Regions from separate parts of the Homo sapiens genome. Here regions 2 and 3 are each linked to region 1. The links are contacts of gene promoters, found by promoter capture Hi-C in human tissues and cell types (Jung and others, 2019). All regions are on one chromosome and are shown on one strand. The core of a region is centred on a gene start or on the middle of the fragment in contact, and the rest is flanking DNA. Distances in the headings are between cores, read along the strand shown. Region 1 holds the start of HS3ST6 (heparan sulfate-glucosamine 3-sulfotransferase 6). Region 2 holds the start of UBE2I (ubiquitin conjugating enzyme E2 I). Region 3 holds the start of TSR3 (TSR3 ribosome maturation factor).

The links. Contacts are between HindIII fragments. The study calls those that stand out against the background at their distance.
Region 2: the fragment with the promoter of UBE2I here is called in contact with the fragment with the promoter of HS3ST6 in region 1 in 1 of the 25 tissues and cell types used here (dorsolateral prefrontal cortex).
Region 3: a contact is called between the fragment with the promoter of TSR3 here and the fragment with the promoter of HS3ST6 in region 1, in 1 of the 25 tissues and cell types used here (spleen).

Annotation. Positions count from the first base shown.
Region 1 is chr16:1,916,709-1,919,838 of GRCh38, reverse strand. It overlaps HS3ST6 (heparan sulfate-glucosamine 3-sulfotransferase 6), which reads left to right and starts at 1,424. Exons shown (of 2, transcript NM_001009606.4): 1 at 1,424-1,928. The coding sequence starts at 1,516. RefSeq lists enhancers at 1-205, 206-769, 770-1,331. The HindIII fragment of the contact is 13,256 bases long and covers 1-3,130 here.
Region 2 is chr16:1,308,174-1,311,303 of GRCh38, reverse strand. It overlaps UBE2I (ubiquitin conjugating enzyme E2 I), which reads right to left and starts at 1,668. Exons shown (of 7, transcript NM_003345.5): 1 at 1,531-1,668. RefSeq lists enhancers at 547-1,158, 1,860-2,099 and silencers at 1,130-1,319, 1,520-1,819, 2,310-2,599. The HindIII fragment of the contact is 23,762 bases long and covers 1-3,130 here.
Region 3 is chr16:1,350,494-1,353,623 of GRCh38, reverse strand. TSR3 (TSR3 ribosome maturation factor) reads left to right here and starts at 1,746. Exons shown (of 6, transcript NM_001001410.3): 1 at 1,746-1,931; 2 at 2,026-2,245; 3 at 2,624-2,817. The coding sequence starts at 1,820. GNPTG (N-acetylglucosamine-1-phosphate transferase subunit gamma) reads right to left here and starts at 1,693. Exons shown (of 11, transcript NM_032520.5): 1 at 1,607-1,693; 2 at 1,465-1,522; 3 at 1,318-1,385. The coding sequence starts at 1,658. RefSeq lists a silencer at 1,469-2,168. The HindIII fragment of the contact is 21,021 bases long and covers 1-3,130 here.

The DNA of each region.
Region 1 (3,130 bases), core at 175-2,674:
GGCTTGCCCAGATGAGCAGGTGCAGCCCGCATGTCTGGAGCCGGGGCTGGGGGACTGGTCAGTGGTCTTCACCCCGTCAGCCCCGTGTGGCCCCCTCTGGCCAGGGCTGCTGCTGGGTAGGAGCTCCGGAATGTCTGTGGGTCGTGGAGGCCTTCGGCCCCTTGAGGCAGCCCGGCTGCTGGGACTTGTCCAGATGCCATCAGGGCTGGAACGGCTCATTAACGCAGCAGAGCCCAGGACAGGGGCCGCAAGCCCTTGGCTGGGAAGAGGCTGGGCCTCTGCCGGGAGCCTGTGCCGTGCCTGCCTGGCGCCAGCCCTGTGGCCAGGAAGGCTGGGGCAGAGGTGGAGAGAGGACCCGGGTCTCATACCACCTTTGCCTTCGGATGGGGCAAGTTGCTCGCCCTCTCTGAGCCCGGCTCGCCTCCCCTGCCTTCCCTGCAGGCTGCTGCTGGGCGTTGGGGATGTGAAGTTCCCGCAGTGTCTAGCGGCCCCCGCAGGTCCCACCCGAGAGGCCCCTGAATCTCACGCCCCTCAGAGGCAGCCCCTGGGGGAGGTCCTGGGCTCCTTCTCTTCCCCAGCACAGGGGTCCCTGAGTCCTTTGTACTCCAGTGGGGTCCACTTTGCCAGCTTCCGAAATGCATCACTGATGTCTCTGGGCAGTGCCAGGTGGACCAAGGCTGGGCAGATGGGGTGACTTAGTAGACAGAGTATGTCTCAGGCCTGAATTCAGTTCACCACTGGGCCCCTGGGAGGGAAACCTATTTTCTCTGAGCCTGTCCCCTCCATTCTAAAACAGTAACCAGAGGTGACTTGACCTCTCAGCGGCCAGGCTGTGACCCGATGTGTGACTGTCAGCTGGGAGTGCAGGACGCACGCCATTCCCGGCCGCAGACTCCCCCCACACGTTCTGGGATCCCTCTCTGCACACTAGGGTGCTGTCCCGGCCTCTTTCTCCCTTGGCAGGCCGAGTGCCCGGATCGACGCTTTTCCTGGGTCCCCTTGGCCTGGCGATGAGGCTCCCGCTCCTGCAGGCCAAGGCTTGGCCTATGCACCTGCCGCGCACGTCCCGGAGTGGGGTGGGGGGGGAAGGGGATCGGTCTTCAAACAGAGGGTCCCGAGGCCCGCGCGCCGCCCTGTCCCTGCCCTGCGTCCCGAACGGCCACCGCCGCCGCATCCTCCCCGCGCAGAGGTGAAGATGCCGGAGTCAAGCGAGCCAGGGCCTGGGATCTCGGAGCAGGAGCGTCCTGGTGGTCCCGGCAGCTCGAGTCGCGCCCGGGTGGTGGCGGCTGCCGGCGGGTCCAGCCCAGGCAGTGGCCTCGGAGGCGGAGTGGGCGGGGGAGGGGGAGGGGGGAGGGCGTCCAGACCCCGCCCCCGGTCCCGCCCCGCGCCCGCTCCCAGGCTGCGGGACCGCCGGGCGCAGAGCACAAGCCGGGCACCCACGGACTGAGCGGCGCGCGGGCCGAGATGCGCGCCCGCCTGCTGCCCCCGCTCCCGGGCCTGGAGCGGCGCGACCCCATGGCAGGTAGCGGCGGCCTGGGCGGCGGGGCCGGGGGCGGCCAGGGCGCAGGGGCCGGGCAAGGGGCCGCTCTGCGGGCGTCCCGCGCGCCGATGCTGCTCGTGGCCCTGGTGCTCGGCGCCTACTGCCTCTGCGCCCTCCCCGGCCGCTGCCCGCCGGCCGCCCGCGCCCCCGCGCCGGCCCCCGCGCCCTCCGAGCCGTCCAGCTCCGTCCACCGCCCGGGAGCACCCGGCCTGCCTTTGGCCAGCGGTCCCGGCCGCCGGCGCTTCCCGCAAGCGCTCATCGTTGGCGTGAAGAAGGGCGGCACGCGCGCCCTGCTGGAGTTTCTGCGGCTGCACCCCGACGTCCGCGCGCTGGGCTCTGAGCCCCACTTCTTCGACAGGTGCTACGAGCGCGGCCTCGCCTGGTACCGGTGAGCACCCTGGCCCGTCCGCCCTGACCGGCGCCTTCCTGGGGAGGGTATCGTGCGCCCCAGGGAGCAGCGGCACGATATCCTGCCTCCCAGGGAGCAGGGGTGCGCTCCGGGCAGTGGGGTTGGGACCGCCCTGTGGGGGCCCCAGGCTTGACCTGGGGTCCCGGCTCCGGAAGAAGGAATGATACTTGGCTAGGATTCCCTGAAACTTTGAAAACTGTGGGGAAAGCCCCGGTTCCGTTCTCTCTGCTGAGGGACCCAGCAGGACTGGGGGAGGCGGTGGCTTCCCAGCCCAGAGGTCGTTTCCAGCCCGTGGGATTACCTGGCAGCGTCAGAAATGCCTCTGCCGCCCGCTCACTCTGGGCACTCAGGTGTGACCGACCGCTGGCCAGGTACTGTAGAAAGGGGCCTCCAGGTTCCAGGCAGCCACCTAGAAAGCGTCCTTCCTCCCCAAGACCCCCGAGTCTGCGCACAGGAACCCTTGTTGGTGGTCCTGGGAGTCCGGAGAAAGTCTGGGCTTTGGAAAGGAGGAGACTGCCTTTAGGTGAGTGCCCAGGGTGAGTCCAGCCCCGTGCATGGGGCTCTGTGGCTGTCCTGCCTCTACCCAGGATGGACGTGGGGGTGCGGCAGCCTCAGCTGAAGCAGCCCGCGCTGGTGGCTGCTCATCCCCAAGCTTGGACCCAGCGCCTGCAGAGAGGACCCTGCCCAAGGCCAGTTGGGGAGTCAGTGGGGGTGGCAGGACCCAGACGCTTCTCCAGGTGCTCCAGTTTCTCCGTTCCCGATCCTCTGATCCTCTTCCTTCCCTGACGCCTACCCCTATTTGTTAACTTTGCCTTTTGTACTAAAACTACTCTTGGGTTTGGAGGGCAGGCAGGAAGGGGCTCCGTGAGAATAGGGTGGCTCGCTTCTGAGATCTGAAGGGCTGGTGCCAGTGTGGGGTGCTGGGGAAGTCAGGTGGTGGCTAGGGGACATGGAGTCCATCCCGGGGCTCACCTGGCTGAATTGGGCATCCTCAGCTCAGGCTCCAGGGAGAGACCTCACTCCCCTGACGGCAGGCAGGGGTCAGAATGCATCCCTAATCCCTGCTGCAGGGAGGAGGGTAGGAGGGGCTACCAAGCTAGAAGCTGGGGAGGAGGGGAGTGGCGAGACGGGGGAGGAGGGGAGAGGCGGGAGGGGGAAGGGGAGAAAGGGCTTTGGGTTAA
Region 2 (3,130 bases), core at 419-2,918, 610 kb after region 1:
CACAGATCAAGCGTTCAAAATTCCGCTGAAAATCGAATTTGCCCTTCCAAATTCACAGATAGGCACTTAGTGAACGGCTAGTAGTTACTAAACGCTTCAGAGCAAGAAACTTTTATGATGCAAAGACAAAAACAACCCTCATCTATTAGAGCCAGGCAAGGCCCAGACACTGCAGAAACGGGGACAGGGCCGGGCACTCCAGGAGCGGCCCGAAAGTCTGCCTTCTGTCCTCCTGCTGGGCGCCCGCAACCGGCTGAGCTTTAGCTTCTCGGATCACCGCCTTGCTCTGCTGGTTGACAGCACCGACTTCAGAGCAACTTCCTGGCTGAGGGTGAGCAAAGCACTCACCTCCCACAACTCCACCGCACTGATCTCCACAACGGGTGGTCGCCACGACAGGCTGGCACAAGAAGCCTTTAAAGGCCCTCCTGCACCCAAATGCAAACTCTCCCAGGCTTGGGGAGGTATTCCCTTCTGCAAGACCCAAGCACCTGCAGTCGGGAGACGCTTACCTGGCCGCACCTGATCTGCCCCAGGCCCCGAGAATGTTTCTGAAGCAAGATCCCAAACCCTGAGACACCATACAAGCGCACACCAGCAATCACCCAGTGGCCTAGGGAACGGACCTCTCTGAATGAGCAATCAGGGCAAACTGAGGATCCGTCCCGTCTTCCGTTGCATAGGTTCTCTACCCAAAGGCAACGTTTCTTGAAGAGCAAGAAACACTTGGGGTAGGTCCTGTAAAAGGAAACAAACCGAACTCCCCAAAGACAGGCACTTTGCAAACAGAGAAACTAAGCGTAACTTCCAATTATACAAACAAAACCACTTCATTCTGCGATTCAAGCGTGACTACAGGCCACGATCACAAGCCCAACTAATCATTCCCTTACATTCCTCCTACGCACGTTAACTACCAGAACCAACTACTATTCAACCGATAAAAAGAGATGTCCAAAACAGAATAAAACTCCCCCTCCAGCGAGGCGCTCACGTTCAGGGCCCCAGCAAGCGCCAGCGGAGCATCTTCAGAGGCACAAGAAAACTTACACTTGTTTTGGTTTTAAGGCACCGAAAACAAGCCCGCTCGCCGGCCCCCACCCCCGCGAGCCAGCGATGTTGCAATCCAAGACTCTCCCCCCGCGGCCCATCCTATCCGTCCGCGGGGCGACCGTGACCCCGGAAGCCGCTCCCCGCGCAGGAGGAAGGCGCGGCCTCGCGGGGCCCCGGCTGCAGGTGGCTGCCCCGGCCCCGCGCCAGGCGCACCTCGGGGGCGAAGTGGGGGAGCCCCGGCCCCGAAGGCCTGCGGCGGCCCGGCCGCTCGGGCCGCAGCCCAGCGGCGCCAGCAGCGCGGACCGAGCCGGCGCCGAGCGCGGGGCCTCTCGGGCTCCCCGGAAAGCTCGGCCGCGGCGCGGGGCCCGGCTCGGCGGGGCGGGGCGCGGGGCAGTCGGGGGCCCGGGCCCAACAGGAGTAGAGGCCTCGGCCCGACCCCCGCCCCGCGGCCCCGGCCCGGCCCCCGCACGCGCTCACCTCGGGCGGCCGCAGCCCCGGCGAGCGTAGCGGACAGGTGGAGGACCGAGCGGGGCGGCGGCGGCGGCGCTTCCCTTTGTCTCGGGACTTCCCTCCGGAGCCCGCTCCGCGCGCAGCCAGAGCAGCTCCGAGGACCCTGGCGCGGGCGGGGCGCGCGGGGCGGGGCCTAACGCGGGGCTGCCCTCTGCACGCCTGCCTCGCGCGCCGCTCCTGCCGCCCGGCCCCGAGCGCCTCCCGCGCCGCCGAGCGCTCCCCGTTGCCCGCGCCCCGCCGCCGCGCGCCCGCGCCCCGGGTCCGCCCCAGGAGCCCGGCCGGGGGGCGACTTTCCAGTCAGGCGGCGCCCTGGACACCTACGCCCTTAAAGGAGCCGCGTCCCCGATGTGAGGGAGCGTCTGTAAACTCCCCTTCGGGCTGCCCGCGTCCACCCGAGGACACGCCGGCAAGCAGCGGGGGAAAAAGGAAGCCGAGATCTCCAAAGGCTCCCCGGATGCCTGGCGGTCACCTCTCCAGCCACAGGTCCCGGAGGTTTCCTTGGGGTCAGGTCCTGGGGCCGGGGGTCAAAGACCACTGAGGCCTAAGGATCCTCTGAAGCGTCGCAGGACGGTGACGCTCCCGCGAGTTCAGCGCCCTGTGAAACCCCTTGCAATTGGCCAGTTCGGGGCGGTAGGCGGGGACACCTTCTCATCCGCCCAATGAGCTGACCCCGTACAAAAGGCCGAATGCGAGCATGACCGACGGGAGGAGAAGTGTGGATGCTCCCTAAACCGGGGGCTGGCCCTGGGCCGGGGCGCGGGCGGGACGTGGGGGACCGCGAGCGGCGGGGGCGGGGCGAGCCCGTGGGGGAGGGGCGCTTCCGGTCCCCCCTCCCGCCCACGCAACAAGCAGGACCGGGTCGGGAGGCCCCCAGACCCGCGAGCGCGCGGGACAGTCCGTTCGCCAACGCGCGACCGTGCTGGCCCCCGGGCTCTCCCGGCCCCCCCGCCCGCATTTCGCCGACGGCGGGGCCGCAGCCAAGGTCACGGTGTCCGGGTGCTTGGGGACCGCGGGGAGTGACCACATTCATTCATTCCCTCCCTCACTCATTCATTCATTCCCTCCCCTACTCCGTCATTCCCTCCCTCACTCACTAATTCCCTCCCTCCCTCACTAATTCCCTCCCTCCCTCATTCATTCGATCCCTCCATCACTCAATCATTCCTTCCCTCTCTCACGCATTCCCTCCCTCACTTACTCATTCATTGCCACCCTCACTCACTCATTCCCTCCCTCACTTACTCATTCATTCCCACTCACTCATTCCCTCCCTCACTCACTCATTCCCTCCCTCACTCATTCCCTCCCTCACTCACTCATTCCCTCCCTCACTCATTCCCTCCCTCACTCATTCATTCCCTCCCTCACTCACTCATTCTCACTCTCACTCATTCCCGCCCTCATTCATTCATTCCCGCCCTCATTCATTCATTCCCACCCTCATTCATTCCTTCCCTCCCTCACTCATTCCCTCTCTCATTCATTCCCTCCCTCCCTCACTCACTCATTCCCTCCCTCACTGATTCCCTCCCTCACTGATTCATTCATTCCCTCCATCACTCATTCA
Region 3 (3,130 bases), core at 497-2,996, 570 kb after region 1:
TCAGCCCAGGAGTTCAAGGATGCAGTGAGCTATGATTGCACTACTGCACTCCAGCCCGAGTGAGAGAGCAAGACCCCGTCTCTAAAAAATAAAAAAAGCGATCCCCCAAACAATACTCTAACACACATACACACACTCCCTCCTCTGCTTCACACATCTACATGGCATTTTTCATCATTGGCCATTCTATGTATTTTATCTAATTCTACAGGCTCAGTGCCTGTTCCTCCATCCCTCCCCATTAGACTGTCAGCTCCATGAGGACAAGCATTGGTATATCTGTGTTCGTTTCTGCAACCCCAGCACAGACCCTAACACATAAAGGTATTCGATAATAAAATTACTAAAGCTGGGCGCGGTGGCTCACGCCTATAATCCCAGCACTTTTGGAGGCCGAGATGGGCGGATCACTTGAGGTCAGGAGTTCGAGACCCGCCTGGTCAATACGGTGAAATAAACCCTATCTCTACTAAAAATACAAAAATTTGCTGGGCGTGATGGTGATGCATGCCTGTGATCCCAGCTACTCGGGAGGCTGAGGCATGAGGATCGCTTGAACCTGGGAGGCGGAGGTTGCAGTGAGCCGAGATCGTGCCACTGCACTCCAGCCTGGGCGACAGAGCGAGACTCTTGTCTCAAAAAAAAAAAAAAAAAAATTCTTGGATTTTTGTCTATTATATTTAATACTCATTCAGCGTTTAAATGATATATATACTCATGACCCACCAATTCCACTTCTGGAATCCTGCACTGGGAAACCGCTCACCTGAGGGCAAACCAAAGCACCTACACAGCATGTTCTCCACAGAACTATTTCTAATGGCCAAAAAAATGGCAAGAACCTAAATACAATCGGGGAGTGCAGTGCCATCCTATCGCGTGCTGAGCACCAAGAGAAAGAACGAAGACCTATATCATCACCATGAAGCGTCCCGAGAGATACAGCGAGTGACAACGACAAATCAGCCAAATACTCGCGCAGCATGATTTTTTAAAAAAGCGATTAGATTACAAAAACTATACGTTTTCCAGTTGCATAGACACGCACGTAAAAGCACAGAAACGCGTCTGCAAAGTCACCAGACTATTAACAGCAGTTACCTCTCGGAAAGGAAAGGAAGGACTAAGTCTGGAGATAATTTAATTCGCTACAAGAACGTTCTGGTATATTCTCTCGTACTTCCACATTAATTTTAGAAGGCTGACAAACCAATGCTTTAGACTCCGGGCCGTAACTCTCAGGGTCACTCATCCATCCTCCACTGTTGCTGCTCCCCGCGGCCACCCCCGCGCCGGCCAACAGCGCTCCTCACTCACCAGACACGGGTGAAGGATCCCTCTTGGCCTGGAGGCGACTGGCCTGAGGCAAGAACGGGTTGTTCACCCTACGGGAAGCGGCAAGGTCAGCGGGGAACGGGCCCGGGCCGTCCCCCGCTCGAGCCGCCAGCCCGCGAGGCTGCTCACCCAAACGCGTTGGGCTCCTCCACCACCTTCATCTTCGCTGCACCTGCCGGCGCGGGCCCTACGGGGAGCGAGACCGTGAGCGGGGAGGCCGGGGTGCAGAGCGCGCGCGGGGCCTGGGGACGCGGACGGCCGGGCCACTCACCGCCGGCCGAGAGCCCGAGGAGCAACAGGAGCCGCGCCAGCCCCGCCGCCATCGCGCCGCAGCGGCCGCCGCGCGGTCACGTGAAGTGACGGTCACGTGACCACGGGGACCGGAAGTGGCGTCCGGCGCAAGCGCTGGCAGCCGCACAGCCCATTGGGAGGCCGAGGGGCGCGGCCGTGGGGTGGGGAGTCCCCGGCACCCCAGGTCCGCGCCATGGGCCGCAGGAGGGCAGCGCGCGGGCCGGGGGCGGAAGGCGGCCGCCCTCGGCACCTCCCGACGCGCTCCCTGGAGGCCTTCGCCGAGGAGGTCGGCGCCGCGCTGCAGGGTGAGCGAGGCGTGATGGGGAGAGCGGGTCAGGGTTTGAGGGCCTGCCCGGGGGTCCCACGCTGAGGCCGAGTGCCCTTCTCTCTCTCGTGCAGCTTCCGTGGAGCCAGGGGCGGCTGACGGCGAGGGCGGCCCGGGCCCGGCGGCGCTGCCCTGCACGCTGGCCATGTGGGAGTTGGGCCACTGCGACCCCCGGCGCTGCACGGGCCGCAAGCTGGCCCGCCTGGGGCTGGTGCGCTGCCTGCGCCTGGGCCACAGATTCGGCGGTCTGGTGCTGAGCCCCGTGGGCAAGCAGTACGCGTCCCCCGCAGACAGGTAGGCGCGGGAGGCCTGCCCGAGGTCGTCTTCATTTCCAGCGCGTGGTTCCCTTCAGGGATGGTTTAGTGGCACTTGTATGTCGCACCCACATCCACACCCACGTGGGCAGGGAACGTCTGTCTAGTTTGCCTCCGTTGCGTAGCGCAGAGCCTGGGATAAAGGAGGTTTTGGGGTAATAAACGTTTGTTGAGTGAATAAACACATGCTCCAGGTGCCCCAAGCAGCTGCCTCAAAAGCTTGCTCGTGAAGTCCGTTTGAGGGTGTTTGGGGATGGCGGAATGATGTCCCTGAATCCCTTAGCTAGGCCATTCTCCGGGGCATGCTCCACCTTGGGTAGTGCTGGCTCCTGAACTTATCCCATGCTGTCCCTGGCAGACAGCTGGTGGCGCAGTCTGGGGTCGCCGTCATCGACTGCTCCTGGGCCAGGCTGGACGAGACACCGTTTGGGAAGATGCGAGGGAGCCACTTGCGCCTGTTGCCCTACCTGGTGGCCGCCAACCCCGTGAACTATGGCCGGCCCTACAGACTTTCCTGCGTGGAAGCGTTTGCTGCCACCTTCTGCATCGTAGGTGAGTCCAGGGGCCCCACAGCAGTGTGACCCGGCGGCCTGCTGTTCCTGCTATGCTCCCAGCATCATGTTTCCTGCCGACAGACCCCAGGAGGAGCATAAGGGACGGACAGGGGAACAGTTCAGACAGACCACGGTTCCAGCCCCAACTGTCACTTCAGGTTTTCGGCCTGTGGAGTTGCAGTAGAGGCAGAATGGGATCGCTGTTCTATCAGGGCCGGTGTGTGGGGTGCCATTCATTATCAGGGCACCACTGCCCAGAGAATCCTCCTTATCCTCCACGTCCTCCTTACTGAATTGCTGATCTAAAGAGG